6 separate regions of the Homo sapiens genome follow, and regions 1, 3, 4, 5 and 6 are each linked to region 2. Evidence: promoter capture Hi-C in 16 types of primary human blood cells and fetal thymus (Javierre and others, 2016). All regions are on one chromosome and are shown on one strand. The core of a region is centred on a gene start or on the middle of the fragment in contact, and the rest is flanking DNA. Distances in the headings are between cores, read along the strand shown. Region 1 overlaps MPZ (myelin protein zero). Region 2 holds the start of COPA (coat protein complex I subunit alpha). Region 3 overlaps DEDD (death effector domain containing). Region 4 has its middle 33 kb from the start of ITLN2. Region 5 holds the start of USF1 (upstream transcription factor 1). Region 6 overlaps F11R (F11 receptor).

Region 1 (4,087 bases), core at 44-2,543, 960 kb before region 2:
ATGTGGCTTTTGCAATTCACGCCCCCCTTAAGTCCTTAATGAAGAGCCAGCCCAAGTAGAGGGGCCCCTGATCCTCACACTTCAGTATAGCATTGGTTCCCCCTGACCACTTTGGAGCACTGTTCTGGGACTCCAGGTCTTGAGGAGAGAGACAGAGAGAGAGAATGGATCCTCATAGGTCAGGGAGTGGGGGAGGGGGCAAATGAGCCTTAAGAAATGGTTTTTAAACAACCAAACAAAAAGCAGGAAAAACAAATGGGAAATGGGGGGGCGGGGGGGAGGAAGAGGCTGCACTGCAGCCACAGGGGATTCTTAGGATTTTTCTACATTCTGTATATTTCTTCTCAAACCTCCAAATGTCCTTAAATGTTTAATAAACACTGACATTTCCAGAAGCTGCTGCCTTGTCTAGAATTTCCTAGTCCTCCTGGGAATAATTCCTGCCCCTTATCCCATCCCCAACCTTCCATACTTGGCTTCAGTTGTTTAGTTTGTTTTTTTGGGGTGGGCTTATATAGTATACTAGAAAGAACTCTGAAATAGCCTCACAAGACACATTCATACCTTCAGCAAATAATCAGTGAGATTATACTACGTTGTAAACTCTGCCAGTCTCTGCTTTTACATGAGTTAAAACGCAGAATCTGTCTTCACCAAGATCTGAATTTTAAAACATCCCAGCCACTCTCTAGCTGTGTGATCCCCAGGACAGTTACCTGACTTTGGTAAGCTTGTTTATGTACTTGTAAACAACTGAGATAATGATATCTGCCCTGCTTAATTCCTAGGGATTTTATAATAATCAAATGAGATCCTGTGTATGGAAAACTTTGTAAACTGTAAGTTGATATACAACTAAATATTAAGGTGTTCAATATTTGTTTCTAGTGCTTGCCTAAGGTAGTACACTTTACAAATTAGCACAAATCCCATTCACCTCTCTAAACAATCACTGCTTTGTTTTGTTGGTACATGATTTTACTTCTGTTTACCTATTAATAGGTATACTATTAATACCTCATTAGCTAGTTTGTTGGTATGTTGATTTAGGTATACCATTAATATCCTGGTATCCTGAACTGATTGTGGAAAAACATATACGTATCATTTTCCCCTGGGGATTACTGATGGCACAAAAAAACCCAAAGTGCCCACAAGTAATTTCTTCCCCTTGTTAAGAAGCTAAAGATATGATTAACACCAGCTTTACCAAAACCCAGAGTGCTTCCATTTGTTTGAGGGGTGTCTTCAATGTCTTTTAAAAAAAATCAATCTGCCTTCATTTAAATATAAAAGCTAATAGAGTATATATAGCCTTTTGTTGGGGGGAAGTGGGAGAGGAAACTTAGTCACAACCCAGTAATAAAGTTGGGAATATCTTAAGCCCAAGATTCCTTATTAGTTAAGATGCTAAACTGTCCATTATTCATTAGATAGTTGCAGCTGGGTTCCCTGCTTAAACTTCCCAGACTGTCAGGAGAGTCAAATGAGGTTGGATGTGGTGGCTCATGCCTGTAATGCCAGCACTTTGGGAGGCCGAGGTGGGCAGATCACTTCAGGCTAGGAGGTTGAGGCCAGCCTGACCAACATGGCTAAACACTGTCTCCACTAAAAATACAAAAATTAGCCGAGCATGGTGGTGAACGCCTTCTAACCCTGGCTACTTGGGCAGCTGGGGCACGAGAATTGCTTGAACCGCGGAGGCGGAGGTTGCAGTGAGCCGAGATCATGCCGCTGCACTCTAGCCTGGGCAACACAGCGAGACTATGTCTCATAAAAATAAAAAAGAAAGAGAGAGAGAGAGAGTCAAATGAAATATTATGCTACTTATGAGATAGAGTATAGCTCAAAGCTTCTCATTTAATTACACTTTTGTTCTAAAATTTATCAGCCACCTGCATTTTGCTAGCTCAGTTTATCCAATTATTTTAATATTTCTTATTCCATCAAGAATCCTGGTACCCTGGGACAACATTTTGCAATCTCTTGCATTAGGCATTTTCACAAGCATTGCACACTTAATGTGGGTTTTTCCAGGACTGTGCCCATTTTCCACAATCCCCAACAAAGTAAGCCACATCCCCCCTTTCTTTCCTCTGCAGTAAAGCATTAAATAAAGTCTAGAATAATGATTCAGATAAAGGGAAATGACATTGTTATATGGGAAACTTTGAATCCCATCTAATTATTACTTTGAAATAAATCGTTCACAATCCTCAGTGCGTTGTTAATAATAGCAATAATTTTGCCCAGGCATGTGAGCACTTTGAGAATAATTTAAAGCCTTTTTCAGTGTTAACCATAAAAAGAAAAAGATTATAACCCAATTTATGAATACGCAGACAAAGAGTCTAAATAAAATATTTGCAAAAGAGAATTCCACAATGAGTTAATAAAATAATAAATTATGACCATGAAGAATTTACTCTGGGAATGAAAGAATAGTTCAGTATCAGGAAATTTACTAACAGGATGTGTTATATCATCAGGGAAAAAACGTAATTCTATCAAGAGGAGATGTAAAAAAAAAAAAGCAATTGTTTTTTAGTAGCTATTCCTACAAAACATTCTAAGTAAAATAGTAATAGAAATAACCATAATGGACACTATTTTTCAAAAATCATTTAAAAAGCATATTAAATATGAAATATTGCAGCCATTGTCATTAAAACAAAAGACAGTACTTACATTATCGCTAAAAATATTCAGTATTATATTTGAAGAATTTAGCTAGTGTAATTAACCAAAAACAAGGAACAATCTGTATACATAGATGAGAAACTTATCTTTATTTGCAGATAATATGATTGTGTTTCTAGGAAATCCATAAGATGCAACTAGACATGTATTGAACTAAGAAGTCAATCTGGTAGTGTGATTATAAAATAAATTAATTTCAGTCTATAACTAGAAATCTAGCTAGAAATGAAAATAATAGGGAAGCCCACTGATGACAGTAAAAAGAACAGAAACAGAAATTAACAAGAAAGGTACATAACCTGTATGAAAAAAATTATAAGATTTATTAAGTAACAATATGTGAAAGTTGTCAGAATCAAGATGGAGACACTCGTGTTAAAAAAGAAAAACAGGGCCAAGCGCAGTGGCTCACGCCTGTAATCCCAGCACTTTGGGAGCTGAGGTGGGTGGATCACTTGAGGTCAGGAGTTCAAGACCAGCCTGGCCAACATGGTGAAACTCCATTCTACTAAAAATACAAAACATTAGCCAGACATAGTGGTGCTCACCTGTAATCCCAGCTACTCAGGGGGCTGAAGCAGGGGAATCGCTTGAACCTGGGAGGCGGAGGCTGCAGTAAGCTGAGGTCATGCCACTGCACTCTAGCCTGGGCAACAGAGCGAGACTCCGTCTCAAAAAAAAAAAAAAAACCCCAAAACAAACAAAAAGACAAAAACAAAACAAAAGAAAACCCTGACAAACAGAACCAGGGAGGGCTATGAAGAAACAGGTTCTCATGCATAAATACTTGATAACAAAAGCTATGACAAAAGAATGCAAAATGGGGACTTAGGGGAAAGGGTGGGTGGGGGTGGTGAGGGATAAAAAAAACTACAAATTAGGTTCAGTGTATACTGCTCAGGTGATGGGTGCACCAAAATCTCACAAATCACCACTAAAGAACTTACTCATGTAACCAAACACCACCTGTACCCCAAAAACCTATGGAAATAATTTTTTTTTTTTTGAGACTGAGTTTTGGTCTTATTGCCCAGGCTGAAGTGTGATGACGTGATCTCAGCTCACTGCAACCTCTGCCTCCCGGGTTCAGGCAATTCTCCTGCCTTAGCCCCCCGAGTATCTGGCATTACAGGCGCCCACTATGCCTAGCTAATTTTTGTATTTTTAGTAGAGACGGGGTTTCACTATGTTGGCCAGGCTAGTCTCGAACCCCTAGCCTCAGGTAATCCATCTGCCTTGGCCTCCCAAAGTGCTGGCATTACAGGCGTGAGCCACCGCGCCCGGCCATAAATAAATTTTTTTTTTAATTCTATGAGAAATAAACATTAAACGTTTTTGAAATATTCCCTTCCCCCTCGTTAAATTATTAAACTAAATGATAAATCTA
Region 2 (3,718 bases), core at 126-2,625:
AATATCATACTTTCTAAAATGAGATTAAAGTCCATTCTTCTGATTTCTTGGGCACACACTTATCGTAACAGATACATGTTCTACATGGCACCCAGCTATGTGCCTCAAAGGGTTATTACAAAGTCCATGTAGCGCCATTGACAGTGACACTAAAAGAGAGAAAACTTGGTCAAAGGAAAGGTGTTTGACCTTAGATTTGCCAGATTCTGGTTGCACAGGTGATCACACTTCTGCTTGTATATCCTGTATGTATATTACTAATTGGTTAATACACAGGTGCTGGGCTAAGAAAACTTTCTGAGGCATTTTTCCAAGAGTGTGAACAGAATTGAGAGAAACCTTATGACATACACGGGTCAGTTAATTTAACATCAGCAGGTCATTTGTGTGCCCACAGTGTGGGGCAGCTGTAGTTTCTCCTTTGAGGATCCTTAAAAACAATGTGAATTGGGGGAAGGCACAGTCATAGTTATATACAGGCATTTGCATTTTAGGGCTTGACCAACTAAAAAGCCATGTATCAGTAAATGAACGCGTATCAGCAAACACTTAAGTACATTATAAATGCCAAAAGTTCCTTGAATTGTTACTTCAGGGTCTTCACAGTTAAGAGTACCCATATCCTACCTTATTCTTGCTTTACTGATTAAAAAAAAAAAAAAAAAAAAAACCTGAGGCAAGGCAGGGGGACACAGACTTAGGATGTAATCAACAGAGGAAGAAATAAGAAATCCACCTTTTAAGCGCCGCACAGCACCCACAGAACAAGATTGCTTTCGTCTCAAAAAGTCTAAACGCGAGGAAGAAAGCTAACTTTCACACCTGTTCCTTTCGACTGTGGGGTGGGTGGCTGGGGTTGTGGGAAAAACGAGACATCTGGACAAAGTGGGAGAGGGTCAGGCTCGAAGTCCAGGAAGAGGCCTAGAGAAGGGAGTGAAGCGACACGACGTGCTGCGGGGGAGAAGGGACCTTCAGGTCCAGGCAAAGGGGGAACTTCTGTCGTGGGAACGAAAAAGAAAGAGGATTTACAGGGTGGGGGGACAGAGGGGCAGCAGGAACCAGAAGGGAGACAGTGGCGGTCGCGGCGGGGCCGATCCGAGAGTTCCCCTTAGAGAACGGAGCTCACGGGCGGGGAGGCCTCACCTGCTAGTAGGACGCAGAAAGACAGAAGGCGAAGGAGACCCCGACTTCCCGGGTCAGCCCCAGAGCCACCCCCTGCCGTAGCCATCTTGCCTCTCTGCTGAGCGGAAGCCCCCGTTCGGCTCCTGTCTGTTAGCGGCCTCTCTAGGCTACCACTGACACCGTCTCTGTGGCCCGGAGCCTAAGAGACCGGAAGTTCGTGTTTCCAGGCGCTTCCGGAAACCGCGGGAGAGGGTCGCTGACGTGGAGGCGTCCGAAGGGCAGCAGGGTGTGTCGGGGCTCGGATTAAGACATCGGAGTCGGAGACCTGAGAGATGTTAACCAAATTCGAGACCAAGAGCGCGCGGGTCAAAGGTAGTGGAGAATAAAAGGGGGAACATGGAGGTTGGATGTCAGGAGCGGCGCTGACACCGGGGAAGAGAAAATGGGTAGAGGTGTTGGTCGAAATGGGCCCACCAGACGGACCCGGAGGAAGACGGAGGGTGGGAGAGAGGTTGGGCCTGGCTAGCGGTTCTCCAGTCCCCTCTTCTTTGGTGTGTCCTTGGGCTTCGATTTACCTATAAAGTGGCTCCCACACTGCAGGGGATTCCTTAGACCCCCTCCCTATTCTTTCTTCCCCCTTTCTCTCTTGGCTGTGCTCCCGATTTGTGTTGTTCTGCTCCAAAGGCCCTGTGATCTGTTGGCTTTTTGATGACTGTGTTATATGGAGTGGCCCTGGGAACTGAGTCTCGATCTCTGTTACTCGCACCCGAGTCAGTAGCCTTTTTGGAGACGAGTAGTGGCAACCTCACTTAAGGAGGCCTTGGCTGCAGCATCTCAACATCAGTGCCTCCATTCGGCTTTATTTACTACCCGGAAATAGTACTTGAGGCTTATAACCCCAATAAAGTCTCAACTTGATAGAGTTGCCAGATAAAATGCAGGATACCCAGTTAAATTTGAATTTCAGGTAAACAATGAATAGTTTTTTAGTCTGTCGTTGCTTACCAGAAGTTCAAATTTATCTGGAAATCTCGTATTTTTATTTGCTAAGTACGGCAGCTCTAGAGCTCGAGTGTGGGTCGTTGGGGGTGGAGGGCAAATACTGAGATCGCAGTATTAGCCTCAGAACGTTAGAATGTGAAAGTCAGAGAAGTAAGGTCTCCGAAGACCTGGAAAAAATAGTATCTAGAATATTTAGTGAGATGCAGCGTAACAAAGTGGTTAGGAACTTGGTCTTTGAAGTCAGATGGGCTTGCCTTGGAATCCTGAGACATCCACTAACAAGCTGTGACTTGGATGACTTACTTAATGTCTCTAAGTCTGTATTTCCTCATCTGTAAAATCGTCTTTTATAGAGAGTATTAAAATGAGAAAGTATATGGAGTGTATTTATTACAGCGCCTGGTGTAGACTCAGTAGCTCAAAAACTGGAGGTTGTTATCAATGTGTGAATATATTCTGAGCAGTTTCTAAGTCTCTTGGGAAACTTGACCTTGAAAGATGGGTACCATTAAGAATTTCTGAGACCTGTATAGGTGAAATGTGAAATGGGTCTTCATAATCTTTCAGTTTTCTTTTCTGCTCCTAATTTCTTGCTGGGCAGTACAGAAGGAAAAACAAAGATGTCATAATATTTGAGGGCAAACATCCATTGTTGAGTGTACTTATATATCATAATTAAAAAAAAGAACCTAATGGAAAAATAGACAATTTAGAAGAAAAATTGTAAATGTTCAATAAATAATTAAAATAGTTCCACCTCACTAGTAATGAAAGAAATGCAAGAAAAAAAAAGTTAAGTTACTTTTTTGGGGGGAGGGTCTTAGATTTATAAAACAAAACAACAAATAGCTGATAGCAGCCTGTGTGCAAAATGGGCACCTCCATAAACTTCATGAGACTGTATATTGATACAGTGTTTTTACATTTAAACTATATGTACTAAAATGTTAAGTGCACATATTCTATTCCTGAGCAATCTCACAGGTCTTTAGCCTAGGGCAGTAATAATGCAAATAGGCTAGATTATGTGTAGAAGTATCTTCAGTAGGCTCTTCTGATAGCCAAAAATTGGCGGACAAAATGCCTGTTAGAATAATATAAGTGTAGTACATTTGTCCCTTGTAGTTAAAAAGAATGAGGTTATGTTTATATGTACTTCCATGAGATCCATATTATATAGTTAAGTGAGGAAGAAGTTTGCAGAACAACATCATAACGTGATCCCCACTTTCATAAAATACTAAAGCCTATGTCTATGTGTAACTGCATTAAAAATCTGAAAGGATACACTTCAAACTGTTAGTAGTTGTTACCTCTGGGGACTTCCATTTCCAGTCATGATAGAATAACAAGAGCCAGATTTACCTTCCCACCTTAACTATACAACTGAACAAAATGTATGAAACAAAGGTTCATACATTGCTCACAGATGTTGGGCAACAGGCAGTGCAGGAAAATAATTCTCCAGAGAAGGCAAATAAACAAGGTGAGTCCTGTGATTGTCGTAGATTACTGCCTAGAGAGTTTTTAGGCTTCAGTGAAGAGGGGAATCCCTTGGTCTTTCTGAGGAGACATAAATTTAGAGTGTGGGGAA
Region 3 (3,807 bases), core at 943-3,442, 780 kb before region 2:
GGAATGTTGTTTGATGGGTTTGGATGGAGGGACCAGATGGCTTTTTCTAGATCTAGTGTGGAAAGTGACATGCATTCTTTTGACCCTTTACCATGCTCCACCTAGAATAGGGTTTCTCATCCTTGGCATTATTGACATTTTGTGCTGCATGATTCTTTGTTGTGGCAGACTGTTCTGTGCATTACAGGATGTTTCTTTTTTCTTTTGAGACAGGGTTTCACTCTGTCACCTGGGCTGGACTGCAGTGGCGCTATCACATCCCACTGCAGCTTCGACCTCCCAGGCTCAAGCGATTCTTCTACCTTAGCCTCCCAAGTAGCTGGGATCACAGGTGCATGCCACCACGCCAGGCTAATTTTTATATTTTGCATAGAGATGGGGTTTCACCATGTTGTCCAAGCTGATCTCAAACTCCTGGGCTCAAGTGTTCCTCCCACCTTGGCCTCTCAAAGTGCAGGGATTACAGACGGGAGCCACTGCACCTGTCCTATAGGATGTTTCTAAATATCCCTGGCTTCTACTCATTACATGCTGATGGCAGTCCCCTTCCCCACCAGGCATAATAATCAGAAATGTCTCCAGACATTGCCACATATTCCCCAGGGGTCAAATTTGCCCCTGGTTCAGAACCACTGACCTAAAAGCTATTATAATTCCTAGTACATTGATGATCTAGCCTGGGATCTAGGACTTAAAGGTGGCTAGTGTGTTTGTTTCCTCTCAAATGTAGGGAGTTAACTTCAAAGGATTGAAGCTTATAGAATTACATCCATTGATACATAATTAGGACCACAGTGCTTTCCTGTATTTTGCCTTATTTTCCATTGCGAGGGTATGTGGGGACAGTGTTTCTTCATTTCCTGGGGTTTAAGCACACTTTAAATTAGGGAACTGTGGAGCAACCAGCTCTTCTGGTTGGTTTAATGTGAAACCTACCCAATCTGCTTTATCTGAGAGCCTCACAATCAACAGCTGGCCCAAGGGAACAGGTGGGATAGGGAACAAAGAGAAGTTGCAGGGGCTCTGAGGAGGCTCAGTTTTCTCATGTTGCCTGCTATGAGCAATAACTTATTTTCCTTTAGCACCTTCATTTGTACCCAGTAACAGCAACAGGTGAATCGAGAGGAAGAGGCAAGGAATACCAGTCTATAGTTGAATAGCTATTTCCCATGCTTTGGGTGGGGCATCTGGGCTCTCAAAACTATATATGGATTACATTTCCTGTCTACATATCAGAACCCATGGTATAGGGTTAAGTGATCCCAGAGTGTACCTCCCCTTTTCTTAAGGGAATGAGTTTCTCTGTGCTTTCATTTTAGTTTTTCATCTGAGGAAGAAAGGACCAGTTCCTACTTACTCTTCAGCTTTCTCTATCAGCTTTGTTTTTCCAAAGAAGCTTATTATTTTATTGTTTCCTAGTCTAGCCTCAGTTCCTTTTTGTATAAAATGGACAGAGCAACCTGTTTAATTGTTGAGTAGGGTAGAGTGGTGTGGTATGGTGTGGGTAGTTCTGGACATTGCAGAGGAGGCTATGGCTAGTTAGAATATATGCATGGTAACTGAATTACCTGTATCTGTTTTTAATGGGGTCCTCTCTTGGACTTTTGTGAATTTGTTTCTTAATTGGAATTGCTTGAGGTGATCTCTTGGAGATTAAGTTCAGTTCAACAGTGGGTTGCTCCCACTATATTTGAGGCTCTGTCCATTACTAGGCACTAGGGATATAAAGATGAATATATCTCTCCATGAGTTGAGTAGGATCTAATGGGATAATAAATACACAAATAATTTTAGTACATGGTGATAAATGGTGTAAAGGAGATATGCATAGTGTTCCATAAGCGCACAGAAGAGGACTACTTATCTCTGCATGGGGGTGTAGAAAATGCATTTTGAAGATGGCATCTGAGCTGACTCTTAAAGAATGAGTAGGAGTTAGCCATCTGAAAAAGAGTGATGATGGGGGTGTGGAATAGAGAAGGGAGAGGGGCATTCAGGCAAAGAGAAGAGCCTGAAGAAGGTATAGAGAAATTGCATGATGTATGTGAACTATAAACAAACTGATAATGTTAGAGAATAAAAAGCGGATGTGATGGGAAATGAGGTTGGGAAGGTAGGCCTGATCTTAGAAGGCTTGATGTGTGTGTAAAGAATTTGGAGTGTTCGGCCAGGCGTGGTGGCTCACACCTGTAATCTCAGCACTTTCGGAGGCCGAGGCAGGCGGATCACAAGGTCAGGAGTTCGAGACCAGTCTGGCCAATATGGTGAAACCCCGTCTCTACTAAAAATACAAAAAGTAGCTGGGCGTGGTGGTGGGTGCCTGTAGTCCCAGCTACTCGGGAAGCTGAGGCAGGAGAATCGCTTGAACCTGGGAGGCGGAGGTTGCAGTGAGCCAAGATCGCGCCACTGCACTGCAGCCTGGGCGACAGAGTGACTCTGTCTCAAAAAAAAAAAAAAAAAAAAGAGTTTGGAGTGTTCTTATAGATAACGATGGGGCAATCAATGGGTCTGAAGCAGGAAAGTGACTTGGTCAGTTGTGGACTTCAGACAGCTAACTGAACTAGATGTGGCAGTGGATGGATTTAGGTAGGTTAAGATTGGTGTTGCAGAGAACTTTTAAAGTTACAGTAGTCCAGGTGAGAGATTATTGTAATCTGAACCATGGCAGTGGAGGTGGAAAGGTAGGATAGATTTAAGAAATATCTAGAAGTAGCATTAACAGGAATTTAGGATTGATTGTGTGATTGGAGAGTGTGACCAGAGAGTGCACAGTATAGGATGGTACTGTCTGGTGGAGCAGTAAGTATGAGTGACTTGAGTCAAAGTTGTTGAATTTGGGAATTGATTAATGGCTGCGTCATTGGTATTACCTGTAGCCCATAACGATGGAGGAACTTTGTGAATCAAGAGCCAAACTATATAACGAATGTGGAGCTGTGATTGGTCATTGATAGGGGATTGGTAAATGACATCCATGAGGAAAGCTTAGAAGGTGGTATTGCCAAGGCCAGGTACGGTGGCTCACGCCTGTAATCCCAGCACTTTGGGAGGCCGAGGTGGGTGGATCACCTGAGGTCAGGAGTTCAAGACCAGCCTGACCATCATGGTAAAAACCCATCTCTACTAAAAATACAAAAATTAGCAAGACGTGGTGGTGCGTGCCTGTAATCCCAGCTACTTGGGAGGCTGAGGCACGAGAATTGCTTGAACCTGGGAGGCGGAGGTTGCAGTGAGCCGAGATTGCACCACTGCACTCCAGCCTGGGTGACAAAGTGAGACTCCATCTCAAAAAAAAAAAGTTGATATTGCCAAATAGGGTGAAGATCAAGGGAGTACAAATGGCATAGAATTACAAGAATGCTTATTGTAGAAACTTAATGTTTATTTTAAATCCATGAGTTTTGGTAAATATTGATAAACTTTCTGAGCAGTTATCATTTCTTGATGTGGTTGGATTGTAGGAAAAATGTGGAGGGATGATTCTGGGCTGCAAAGGCCAAGGATGCTTGTATCTTTGAAATGTTTCACAACCATTTATATAAGGGTTACCCGTGATTTTCTCATTGGATTCTTAACAACTCTGAGGTGTATATTCATTCATCCCTGTTTATAGATGACAGCACTGAGAATCTGGAGTTAAGTGACTTGCTTACGGTCACACAGCTACACAGCCTTTCAGTGATACAGTCAGAATTTAAACTAGTTCTTTTTTTTCCGAGATGGGGGACTCACTCTGTCACCCAGGCTACAGTGCAGGATTATGGCTCACTGCAGCCTTGAACTCCTGGGCTCAAGTGATCCTCCTGC
Region 4 (4,057 bases), core at 1,031-3,530, 640 kb before region 2:
AAAAAAAAAAAAAAGGAAAATAAAAGACAAATGGCTGGGCATGGTGGCTCACACCTATAATCCAAGCACTTTGGAAGGCTGAGGTGGAAGGATTGCTTGGGGCCAAGAGTTTGAGACTAGCCTGGGCAACAAAGTGAGACCCTGTCTCTATGAGAAAATTAAAAAAAAAAAGGCCACCTTTTTGATACGAAAGGAGGGGAAATAAGAAAGCATACTATATTTGCTTATTTTTGCAGAAACAAACACAGGAAGGAAAATAAACTAAATTGGTTATTTCAAGAGGTAGATAAGGTCTAGATGAAATAGATACATGATCGGCCGGGCGCGGTGGCTCACACCTGTAATCCCAGGACTTTGGGAGACTGAGGCGGGCGGATCACGAGGTCAGGAGATCGAGACCATCCTGGCTAACACGGTGAAACCCAGTCTCTACTGAAAATACAAAAAATTGGCCGGGCGTGGTGGTGGGCACCTGTAGTCCCAGCGACTTGGGAGGCTGAGGCAGGAGAATGGTGTGAACCCCAGAGGCGGAGCTTGCAGTGAGCCCAGATCGCGCCACTGCACTCTAGCCTGGGCGACAGAGCGAGACTCTGTCTCAAAAAAATAAAAATAAAAATAGATACATGATGGAGTATTACTTCTCTGAGTTTATTTACCATTTTGTCTAGTTTTGACTTCTGGATCCATGTTAATGTTTTGCACATTAAAAAAAGTTGACAAGAAAAAATATGCAGAACATGCTTGTCCTCAGGCTTGTCAGAGACTCCTATAACCATATAAAGAAGCTGAGGGTTGATCATGCTTGAGCTATGATACTTATTAAAATAGTACTAGAAAGACAAATAGAATGTAGCATGGCAAAAGAGCTGCACATTTTGGGAGAAGGCATTTATTTGTAGGGGCTGAAATGTGCTAGCTCGAGAATCAGACCTAAGAATTACAAGGTGATTAACCAAAGGAAAAAGTCTCTGGAAGTAGAAAACTAAAAAGAAGGTTTGGAACAGGCTGGAAGTGAGATTGAAGCATATCACAGAAATGTTAGACATTCTTCAATGTCAGTGCCTTGGATGAATTTATAAGGCTTTGCCTTAAAGTTACTTGTGGGCTTATAAAGCCTGTGTCAAAGCTAAACAAAGCCAGACAATAGTTTAGACAAGAAGTAAGGATAGGTATTTATTTATTTATTTGAGATGGAGTTTCACTCTTGTCGCCCAGGCTGGAGGGTAATGGCGCGATCTTGGCTCACCGCAACCTCCGTGTCCGGGGTTCAAGCGATTCTCCTGCCTCAGCCTCCTGAATAGCTGGGATTACAGGCATGCACCACCACGCCCGGCTAATTTTTTTGTATTTTTAGTGGAGACAGCGTTTCTCCATGTTGGTCAGGCTGGTTTTGAACTTTTGACCCCAGGTGATCTGCCCACCTCGGCCTCCCAAAGTGTTGGGATTACAGGCGTGAGCCACTGCACCCGGCCTAGGATAGGTTTTTTTAAGTAGTAACTATTGCAGTAGGGAAGAGGGCCCAAGGTGAACTGAACTTAACTTCCTTAAAAAAAAAAAAAATGCAGGAGGCCTTTTGAAGGCTGGGATGTGCTAAGGGATAGGCATGAAGATATTAAGGAGAATTGCTCCATGTGACTAGACAATCTGGATTTGTGAATTGGCTCTTGTCCAGAAGAGAAATAAGCACCTATTTTTACGACAGGAGCTAGTAGTGCAAGTTAGAGCAAGGCACCCACCTGGTTGGGAGCTGGAGCAAGATTTATTTCCTCAAATGTTTGCATTTCAAAGAAACTCTCAGGTCCCAGTGAAAATAGCTCTGGGTAGAAGATTTACATCTCAAAGAGGCAGAGAAAGATGTTTTAATTGCAAGCTTTCTTTCTAAGTAATTGCACTAAGATGAAGTTCAGGGGCCTGTGTCTATTGCTAGGTTTGGGCTGGGATGCACAGTAAATTTTTCTGACAGCGATGAGCTTTTTCAGGCAGGCATTTTAAGCGGGGGGCTGAGGTCCTCCTAGGGACAAGGCCTTAAGTTGCTAGAAGCCATGCTAGAGCTTGGTTAAGGAGAGTCTTTGTTACCTGGCGTCTCTCTGCAGTGCCGTTTCAATGCCTTAGAGCAAGAGAGTGGTGGATGGACAGTGATAGTGATTCACGTGCGCAATTCACAACTTGCATTAGCAACCAGGCAAAAGCAAGTGCTGCTTTTAGAGGCCTTGGGAAGAATTTCCACAAGTTTCCGGCCATTGGGATACAGGGGAAAAGGGATTGGAGGGAGGCTCATCGGGAACAATACATTAGGTAATGTTGGGGTTTATAAATCGATACCCCCAAATATAGTACTGAACCGAAGAAGCAACCTGAAGATCTCTCTGACCTTCCCCGCTCCACACGGTCTCTCCCAAAAAGCTGAAGTTCCTTTATTTGCCTAAGATCCAGACCCTCCAAGGAGAACAGTAGGTTTCTTTTCCTCCTGTAAGACCAAAAATGTAACCACACCTGAACAGACCTTTTCATGAGTTAATGCCTGCTTCTCATGGTCATCTAAATTCCAAAGAAAACTATTTACAAGTTAATTTGTTTCCTGATCAAATCATTCTCTTTAGTAATCATTTATTGCCCATCAACAGAATTCCTTTTCTCCCGCAGGATCCAAACTCATTCTTTCTGTAACCTCATGATGGCGTATAAGCTTTTGCACCTCACTGGGAGGTTGGGTCTTCATTCTGAAGGCTTCTATGTATACATATTAAATAAGTTTGTATGCCTTTTTTCCTATTAATCTGCCTTGCGTCAGTGATTTTCAGCAAACTTCAGGGAGCCAAAGGCCTTGGCTCCCACAGTGATAATAAACAATATGACTTTTGGCTATCAAAATTCCTGCTGTTAGTTAAGGAAAAATTGTGACAGTTTCTGAAATGGACAAATACAGGCATCCTTCCAGTGGATTACTAGGATTTGTCTAGACTAGAGGACAGGATGCTTCTGGGGGTTTTCTGATTCTCTACAGGTCAGTATCCTTCCTTGTCTTGTACTGTTTTGCAACTCTAGAAAGAAAAGTTAAATATGTAGAAGCCTGACAGTGATACAAATGATCCCTGTTCATATTAATACAAATGCAAATTGTTTGCCTGGTAGAGATACAATTGATTTTCTCTCTGTAGAAAAAAAGATGATCCCAGCCAGGCGTGGTGGCTCACCCTGCAATTCCAGCACTTTGGGAGGCCGAGACAGGCAAATCACAAGGTCAGGAGTTCGAGACCAGCCTGGCCAATATGGTGAAACCCTGTCTCTACTAAAAATACAAAAATTAGCCAGGCGTGGTGGTGGGCGCCTGTAATCCCAGCTACTCTGGAGGGTGAGGCAGGAGAATTGCTTGAATCTGGGAGGCGGAGTTTGCAGTGAGCTGAGTCCTCGCCATTGCATTCCAGCTTGGGCAACAGAGTGAGATTACATCTCAAAAAAAAAAAAAAAAAAAAAAGAATCCCAGAAATTAAATGTTTTATATTTTTGCCACAAGAAAACACGTGCAAGTATGAAACTTTTTGTAAGGTCCTCTGAGCTGGCTGCACTATGGTCAAGCCACGGTGACATTCCCCCACCCTTGTGATAATGTACTTTGTGATACTCCTGTCCTTGTGAATGTACTTTGTAACATTCCTCCCCACCCTTGTGACAATACATCCTCCCTGCCCTTGTGACAATACACCCTCCCTGCCCTTGTGAATGTACTTTGTAACATCCTCCCCACCCTTGAGAATGTACTTTGTAATATCCATCCCCTGCCTGTAAAAAATTGCTCCTGACTACACCGCCTATCCCAAACCTATAAGAACCAATGATAATCCCACCACCTTTTGCTGACCCCTTTCTCGGACTCAGCCCACTCACACACAAGTGAATAAACAGCCATGTTGCTCACACTAAGCCTGTTCAGGTGGTCTCTTATGTGGACACGCATAACACTTTTATTATTATTATTATTAAAAAAGTAATAATAAAAAGAGACAGAGTTTTGCTCTTGTTGCCCAAGCTGGAGTGCAATGGCGTGATCTTGGCTTGC
Region 5 (4,017 bases), core at 852-3,351, 700 kb before region 2:
TCCCGAGCTTCTCGATCCTCTTGGAGGAATGGGGGTAGTCTTTCCTTTGATGCTGCTGTGGCCCTAGCCCGGGACCGCCAAAGGACTGAGGCTCAAGGAGTTCGGCGAACCCAGACCTGTACTGAGGGTGGGGATTACTGCCTCATCCCCAGAACCTCCCCTTGTAGCATGATCTCTGCCCATTCTCCTCGGCCCCTTAGCTGCCTGGAGCTCCCATCTGAAGGTGCAGAAGGGTCTGGATCCCGGAGTCGTCTTAGTCTGCCCCCCAGAGAACCCCAGGTTCCTGACCCCCTGTTGTCCTCTCAGCGCAGGTCATATGCATTTGAAACACAGGCTAACCCTGGGAAAGGTGAAGGACTGTGATTAGGACCACAGCCCTGGGCAAAGGGGACCAGCAAGTTGTCTTGAATCTCCAGGGTTCCTGACTAGCTGTCTCCTCTGCAGCATGAGCAGCTGTAGTGCCCAACTCTATAGGCTTTGGCCCTCCAGCTTCTCTCTTTGACTGTGGGAGGCACTGCCTTGGTTGGTTTACCTGAACTTGTCTCCGACACAAAGCACTTATCTCTTAGGAGATTCCCAAGAAAGTCAACAAGATCTTGTTCCCAGGGAGTGGGTCATTGGCCAAAGGGAACATAAGGTAGGCAGAAAACTTAAAAGAGTTTGTTAAAGTGAAGACTGGAGAAATTCCTCCCTTCCTCTGAGCTGTGAATCTCTCTTCATGAAAGCCAAAGGTAGAGACAGGGAGGACAGGGCCAGGTTAGGGCCTTCCACACACAAACACTTCTAGAGTTGCCCATTCCTGTTATGTTCTTGGACCCTAAGATACCTCCTGTCCCTTTTAAATCCAGATTAAGAGAAACGTCCAGGAAGAGCTCTTTGAAGCCCTCAATATTTGTTGGAGGGACTGGACTCCTCTCCAGCTCCCCACCCTCTGCCTCCAGTCACCATGTGCAAGAGAGGTCCTGTACAGATCTCTCTGGGCTCTCCTTTCTCCTTTGGAATAACTTGTTCCTATTTCAGGAAAGGGAAATGGTGTCACTCAGGCCCTGGGACTGCTTCTCCAGCCAGGCTGGGGCCACAGGTCCCACTCTAGTGAAGGTCAATGTCTCAGAATAAAAGCTGTATTTTTACACATAGTGTGGAGTCTCATTATTCTTATTAAAGTCTTTGGTGATAGGTATTATATCTTCACATATTTGGCAAAACATTCTTTTTCTTCTTCTTGTTTGGGTGCTCTTCCTCAGTTGTTGTCATGGAGACTAGTGGCCAGAAACTAGAGCTAGGTTCATGGTGGTCAGGAAATAAGGAAGAGAAACTTATATTTACATAATGCGTTCATTATGTGCCAGGAACTGGACTAAGTATCCTGTGCTCACAAAATCTATGTCCTTGATTTTATTTAATCCACACAATTCTGGAAGGTTGGTGCTAGTATCTCCAGTTTATAGATGAGGAAACTAAGGCTCAATTAAGTCAAAATGTTTGCCAAAGGTCTCAGAGGTAAGAAGTGGCAGAGATGGGTTTGAAACCTGGATCTGCCTGGCCCCCAAGCTTGAATTTTTCCCATTATACCACACTACTCCAAATCCATTCAGGGTAGGTCTTGATTGAGAAGAATGGGAATCAAGATTCCTGTCACAGAAGGTGTGAGCCTTTAGAACACTAGAAGCTTTGGGGTCTTTGGATGAGTGACTGCTGACGCGAATAACAAGGAACATATCCAATTCTATGCATGCCCCGATAGGTCGTAATCTCTAGCAGGTAACCTTTCAAAAAGACGCCCTGCGCCAAGATGGCCTCCCAAATAGCCCTTGTTAAAGATGGCGCCTCCGTCGGACGTCCCTCCCTTGATCTCAGCTGGATTCTCTTCTTTCCTGGAATGAAAAAATGCCCTGCCAAGCACTAAGATATTAGTACAAGTTAGTCGTCTCTTTCCCGTTCTTGTCGAAAGTGGCCAGGCCTTCAGCTACATTCTCCAGGACACGGCTTCTTTCCGGCTTCACAAATAACCCACAAACACCAACTCTCATCAAGATGGAGTGAGCGGAAGTGGGGCAGTTCTGAGTTTGAGTTTATGGGCGGGGCGAGAGCGACACTTCCGCCCCTCACCAACATGGCCGCGGGCTGGAAGTGCGCATGAGCAGCTGTCTATGGAGATACCTAGGCCGGGAGAGGGAGAACACAGTTGGAGAAAATCGGCAGCTGAGACGGCCTTGGCCGGTGAGTGTAGGACCGGGCAGAAGTCTGGAAACTGGGTGGACTGGCAAGGCAGGGCAGCTTTGATTTTGTTTCCGTTTTTCAAGTTAGAGAACACTGCTGGGGAGGAAGCCTTTGTTTTGGGGGAGGGGGCTGTGCTGGTTCTTTATCTCATACCCTGCTTTGTGGGCCAAACTCTCTCCCTTCCCCAGAGCGCGAGCGTCCCAGCCCTCCTGCGCTGTCCAGCTGCGCGCCGCAGCCGCCGGCACCGGGCGCTTGAGCTCCCTAGTCCCCGAGGCCCTTTCCTGCCTCCTCCGCGGAGCAGCTGGGGCGCGGGGCTAAGACTGCGGGGCTGCGGGGTCACGGCGCAGGCTCCCGGGCTCGCGCCTGGCGGGCGCTCAGCTCCGTAAGCGCCTTCTGGTTGGTGAGCCTGCAGGGAGACGCCTCATTCTAAGGCAAGGTCTAGGTGCCTGACTTCTTTCGGGAGTTGATTTTTTTTCCCTTTGTGTCCAGACTTAGCAAGGGCTCTTACTGGGCCCTTCTGGCCTGAGCGTGCACACCACAACGTCCCATCCCTGTTTCCGTGTCACCGATCCCTAATGCCTAGGAAATGCTTCCGGATGTCCAACTAAGATTTGAATAAGTACCCTGACCCCGTTGCTGGGTGTCCTCAGAGACTGCCCCGGCTGACAGCTGTGGCCAATAGAGATGCCTCCTGTGCCGGGCCCTCTATTTCATTGCCTTCCCCTGCAGTCAGCGCGGCAAGCTTCGCAGGGCATTTCCTCTTCAGGTTTGAAGATGGAAATGTAGGTGGTCCCAAAACACTAGTGCTACTTCCCCTTATCGACTGGGATCTCCTTGCAGCGTTACTTCGTCTGTACGGTTTCACTTTCAGTTCCTTTTTCAACATTTTCCTCGGACGCGGTCTTTCCGAGGCTTATCCATTGAAAATTTTCCTTGGATAGGAAAGGTTTGGAGGACCTTATGGGTAGAGAATTTCCAAAAATCTTGCCCCTTTTGTGTTGGGATTATCTTATTGCTTTGTACTGTGTAGCTGTTTCTTTCTGGAGGCATGTCTGCCCAGCTCTTTGTTTTTCCTGCCCTCTGGCTGGGTGTCAGGGTCCTAAGGCAGAGCTTGTAGGTGGATTCTTCCCCCTTTGTCTCTTCTTCAGAACCCTGTTTTTTTTTTTTTTACCCCTTCTTGCTCAGGCTTAGTTGATTTGGAGTTGTCATAGCAACATTTTAGCAACAGTGTTGTTCTGCAGGAAGGCTTGATGAATAAAATAGAGAATGCTTGAAGAGGATCCACTTGGGCTTTAGGGTTTCTAACAGATTATATAAATCTGGATACCCCAAAACAAGAGTCCTGTCAGTAGAATGGGGCCCAAATGCCAAGTCTAGTCTTTGTGGTCAGGGATATTCTTCCAGTGGTAGTGGGCTTCAGATTTCCTCTTCCTAGGTTTGAAAACAGAAATGTCTTGATGGACAACATGTGGCTGAGAAACTGGAAGAAGCATCAGTGTCCATGACACTGTATTTTTTGATGGTGGGGCCAATACATGGCCCTTCCTGATTCCCATGAAGCTGCCATCATGGCAGGTCATAATAGCTTTAATGATCCATTTAGAGATGTGTTGTTGGCTGGGTGCGGTGGCTCATGCCTGTAATCCAAGCACTTTGGGAGGCCGAGGCAGGCGGATCACCTGAGGTCAGGAGTTCCAGACCAGCCTGGCCAATATGGTAAAACCCCATCTCTACTGAAAATACAAAAATTAGCTGGGCGTGGTGGTGGGCACCTATAATCCCAGCTATTCAGGAGGC
Region 6 (4,072 bases), core at 1,107-3,606, 670 kb before region 2:
TTTCAGGGGCAGGCATACCTCAAAACCGTAGACTGGTGTGAAGGTGTGGGTTGCCCCTCCACACCTGTGGGTGTTTCTCGTAAGGTGGAACGAGACTTGGAAAAGAAAAAGACACAGAGACAAACTATAGAGAAAGAAATAAGGAGACCCGGGGAACCAGCGTTCAGCACATGGAGGATCCCGCCAGCCTCTGAGTTCCCTTAGTATTTATTGATCATTCGTGGGTGTTTCTCTGAGAGGGGGATGTGTCAGGGTCACAAGACAATTGTGGGGAGAGGGTCAGTAGACAAACACGTGAACAAAGGTCTTTGCATCATAGACAAGGTAAAGAATCAAGTGCTGTGCTTTTAGATATGCATACACATAAACATCTCAATGCTTTACAAAGCAATATTGCTGCCCGCATGTCCCACCTCCAGCCTTAAGGCGGTTTTTCCCTATCTCAGTAGATGGAACGTACAATGTCTTGGTTTTATACCGAGACATTCCATTGCCCAGGGACGGGCAGGAGACAGATGCCTTTCTCTTGTCTCAACTGCAAGAGGCATGCCTTCCTCTTATACTAATCCTCCTCAGCACAGACCCTTTACAGGTGTTGGGCTGGGGGACAGTCAGGTCTTTCCCTTCCCACGAGGCCATATTTCAGACTATCACATGGGGAGAAACCTTGGACAATACCTGGCTTTCCTAGGCAGAGGTCCCTGCGGCCTTCCGCAGTGTTTTTGTCCCTGGGTACTTGAGATTAGGGAGTGGTGATGACTCTTAAGGAGCATGCTGCCTTCAAGCATTTGTTTAACAAAGCACATCTTGCACAACCCTTAATCCATTTAACCCTGAGTTTGACACAGCACATGTTTCAGAGAGCAAGGGGTTGGGGGTAAGGCCATAGATTAACAGCATCCCAAGGCAGAAGAATTTTTCTTAGTACAGAACAAAATGGAGTCTCCTATGTCTACTTCTTTCTACACAGACACAGTAACAATCTGATCTCTCTTGCTTTTCCCCACACTGGTGAGTCACTCCTCCTTTCCTCTCCCTCTACTCCCAGGAGTGAATTGTTCCCTCCAAACTAGAAACTGGTGACTGGCACTTCCTAGTTCTACCTGGAACTAGGAAACGAGTGGCAGTGGAATTTCAGTGTCCTTTAGTCTTTGCCTTCTGGCTCCAGATCACTTTTTTTTTTTTTGAGACGGAGTCTCATTCTGTTACCCAGGCTGGAATGCAGTAGCATGATCTTGGCTCACTGCAACCTCCACCTCCCGGCTTCAAGCGATTCTCCTGCCTTAGCCTCCCCAGCAGCTGGGACTACAGGCACGCGCCACCACGCCCGGCTAATTTTTTGTATTATTTATTTATTTATTTGTTTTTGAGACAGAGTCTCTCTCTGTCGCCAGGCTGGAGTACAGTGGCACGATCTCGGCTCACTGCAAACTCCACCTCCCGGGTTCATGCCATTCTCCTGCCTCAGCCTCCTGAGTAGCTGGGACTACAGGCGCCCGCCACCATGCCTGGCTAATTTTTTCTATTTTTAGTTGAGACGAGGTTTCACTGTGTTAGCCAGGATGGTCTTGATCTCCTGACCTCATGATCTGCCCGCCACGGCCTCCAAAAGTGCTGGGATTACAGGCGTGAGCCACCGCGCCCGGCCCCTAATTTTTTGTATTTTTAGTAGAGACGGGTTTTCACCATGTTGGCCAGGCTGGTCTCGAACTCCTGACTTCAAGTAATCCTCTTGCCTAGGCTTTCCAAAGTGCTGGGATTACAGGCGTGAACCCCTGCACCTGGCCACTCCAGACCACTTTTACCTCACCATGTTGCTCTTCAGTTCCTTTGTGATCATGTCTTGTGGAGTCTCCAGCCCAGTTCCGATTCAAGATAGAGCTACTGTGATTTTTTTTAAAAAAATTTAATTAGAATAGGTTAATTGACATGGTTTTATAATTAAAATGATATCAAAGGGGTGGGGTATCTCATTCCCATGTTGCTCCTGTTCACCCCAAACCCCAATAGTTTCTAATGTCTCTTCAGTGTTTCATTTTACAGATACAAGTATATATAAATAATACTTGTTTTTTCTCCCCTTTCTGACACAAAAAGAGGCATACTACATATATTCTACATCTTGCTTATATATATATATCATGGAGTTTTGTTGTTGTTGTTGTTGTTTTTGAAACAGGGTCTCACTCTGTTGCCCAGGCTGGAGTACAATGGCATGATCATAGCTCACTGCAGCCTTTTTTTTTTTTTTTGAGACAAAGTCTTGCTGTGTTGCCCAGGGAGGAGTCCAGTGGCGTGATCTTGTCTCACTGCAGACTCTGCCTCCCAGGTTCAAGTGATTCTCCTGCCTCAGCCTCCCGAGTAGCTGGGACACAAGCGTGCACCACCATTCTTGGCTAATTTTTGTGTGTGTGTATATATATATATATATATATTTTTTTTTTTGAGATGGAGTCTGGCTCTGTCACCCAGGCTGGAGTGCACTGGAGCAATCTCGGCTCACTGCAAGCTCCGCCTCGCGGGTTCACGCCATTCTCCTGCCTCAGCCTCCCGAGTAGCTGGGACTACAGGGGCCCGCCACCACTCCGGCTGATTTTTTGTATTTTTTTTAGTAGAGACGGGGTTTCACCGTGTTAGCCAGGATGGTCTCGATCTGCTGACCTCGTGATCTGCCTGCCTCGGCCTCCCAAAATGCTGGGATTACAGGCATGAGCCACTGTGCCCAGCCTTTTGTACATATTTTTTTAATTTAATTTTTTTTTTTTGAGATGGAGTCTTGCTCTGTTACCCAGGCTGGAGTGCAGTGGCGTGATCTCGGCTCACTGCAAGCTCTGCCTCCCGGGTTCACGCCATTCTCCTGCCTCAGCCTCCCAAGTAGCTGGGACTACAGGCACCCGCCACCATTCCCTGCTAATTTTTTTTTTTTTTTGTATTTTTAGTAGAGATGGGATTTCACCATGTTAGCCAGGATGGTCTTGATCTCCTGGCCTTGTGATCTGCCCCCATTGGCCTCCCAAAGTGCTGGGATTACAGGTGTGAGCTGCCCGGCTAATTTTTGTATTTTTAGTAGAGATAGGGTTTCACCATGTTGGCCAAGCTGGTCTTGAATTCCTGACTTCAAGTGATCCGCCTGCCTTGGCCTCCCAAAGTGCTGGGATTACAGGCATGAGCCACCGTGCCTGGCCTCACTGCAGCCTTGACCTCCTGGGTTCAAGCAATCCTCCAGTCTTAGCCTCCTGAATAGCTGAGGCTATAGGCAAGTGTGAGTGGTGAGCCATACCTGGCTAATTTTTTATTTTTTTAGTACAGACAGGGTCTCATCTGTTGTACAGGCTGGTCTTGAATTCTTGGCTTTAAGGGATCCTTTTGCCTTGGCCTTTCAAAATGCTGAATGACAGGTATGAGTCACTACACCTGGCCCATATTGGTTTCTAGGGATTGTGGCCTTGGCTGTTAGGATACATCCCACCCCCCTCCAAGTCAGCTGAGTTCAATTTGCACTTGTTCTGTGGACACATAAATGGGCAACACACGTTTCCACCACACCCAAAAATAGATTTAAATGCCATGCACATTTTATGTGATAATAATGAGACTTGTTTATCACATCTGTTAGGTTTGACTAGAGACCCTGGAGATCTCTAAACTCAAACCAGTTTCTGTTTCAGAGATTCAGGAAAGACCTGGATGACCTTGCGTCCAACATAATTGAGGATGAGGTTTCACTATTGTGTGACGGTTGTGGAAAGCAGTATGAGTGAACACATACTGTGAGAGTGGATACACACTAGGGTTTTCCTGGCATTGAGAACCCAGAGTTCATCTGCCTGGACTCCCTGATAAGCAGGGTTTCTGTCTAAAGTCCGGCTGCGTCATTTGTTTCACAATGTAGGGGCGGAACAGGAGGAAGCAGCTGGCTGGCAGGAAGTGGGTGCTGGGCCCCTGAAGTAAGTCCTGCGCTGGAAGGCTCGACCTTCCCTTGCACTGGGAAGATGGGGTGGCGGGGGAGCTGAGCAGGTAGAACCGGAAATTCTGCAGAGAGGGCGGGAGGGAGCCAGGGAGTGAAAGCGAG

Evidence for each region. The method cuts DNA at HindIII sites, captures the fragments that hold promoters and counts their contacts. A CHiCAGO score of 5 or more calls a contact.
Region 1: a contact is called between a fragment that was not itself captured here and the fragment with the promoter of COPA in region 2, in 1 of 17 cell types (non-activated CD4 T cells). The highest score is 5.2, in non-activated CD4 T cells.
Region 3: a fragment that was not itself captured here is called in contact with the fragment with the promoter of COPA in region 2 in 1 of 17 cell types (activated CD4 T cells); the score reaches 5.2 in activated CD4 T cells.
Region 4: a fragment that was not itself captured here is called in contact with the fragment with the promoter of COPA in region 2 in 1 of 17 cell types (non-activated CD4 T cells); the score reaches 5.4 in non-activated CD4 T cells.
Region 5: a contact is called between the fragment with the promoter of USF1 here and the fragment with the promoter of COPA in region 2, in 1 of 17 cell types (fetal thymus). The highest score is 5.4, in fetal thymus.
Region 6: a fragment that was not itself captured here is called in contact with the fragment with the promoter of COPA in region 2 in 1 of 17 cell types (total B cells); the score reaches 6.4 in total B cells.

The regions. Positions count from the first base shown.
Region 1 is chr1:161,301,043-161,305,129 of GRCh38, reverse strand. MPZ (myelin protein zero) reads left to right here. Exons shown (of 6, transcript NM_000530.8): 6 at 1-395. Among named protein-coding and RNA genes, the nearest start is that of MPZ, 6.9 kb to the left of the region's middle. The HindIII fragment of the contact is 1,122 bases long and covers 733-1,854 here.
Region 2 is chr1:160,340,907-160,344,624 of GRCh38, reverse strand. It overlaps COPA (coat protein complex I subunit alpha), which reads left to right and starts at 1,375. Exons shown (of 33, transcript NM_004371.4): 1 at 1,375-1,494. The coding sequence starts at 1,455. It overlaps NCSTN (nicastrin), which reads right to left and starts at 1,242. Exons shown (of 17, transcript NM_015331.3): 1 at 1,144-1,242. The coding sequence starts at 1,228. RefSeq lists enhancers at 1,173-1,222, 495-1,442. The HindIII fragment of the contact is 9,711 bases long and covers 1-3,718 here.
Region 3 is chr1:161,125,000-161,128,806 of GRCh38, reverse strand. The region is part of intron 2 of DEDD (death effector domain containing); the gene reads left to right. It also overlaps a transcript of NIT1 not described here. Among named protein-coding and RNA genes, the nearest start is that of DEDD, 5.8 kb to the left of the region's middle. The HindIII fragment of the contact is 1,588 bases long and covers 1,399-2,986 here.
Region 4 is chr1:160,985,576-160,989,632 of GRCh38, reverse strand. No RefSeq gene overlaps it. Among named protein-coding and RNA genes, the nearest start is that of ITLN2, 33 kb to the right of the region's middle. RefSeq lists a silencer at 1,940-2,234. The HindIII fragment of the contact is 816 bases long and covers 1,873-2,688 here.
Region 5 is chr1:161,044,061-161,048,077 of GRCh38, reverse strand. USF1 (upstream transcription factor 1) reads left to right here and starts at 2,101. Exons shown (of 11, transcript NM_007122.5): 1 at 2,101-2,220. It overlaps ARHGAP30 (Rho GTPase activating protein 30), which reads left to right. Exons shown (of 12, transcript NM_001025598.2): 12 at 1-1,132. The coding sequence ends at 363. RefSeq lists enhancers at 1,251-2,131, 1,742-2,221, 1,334-2,533, 2,132-3,012, 3,072-3,301. The HindIII fragment of the contact is 1,293 bases long and covers 1,672-2,964 here.
Region 6 is chr1:161,013,771-161,017,842 of GRCh38, reverse strand. All of the region lies in intron 1 of F11R (F11 receptor), which reads left to right. Among named protein-coding and RNA genes, the nearest start is that of F11R, 5.3 kb to the left of the region's middle. RefSeq lists enhancers at 1,341-1,938, 3,580-3,799. The HindIII fragment of the contact is 7,117 bases long and covers 1-4,072 here.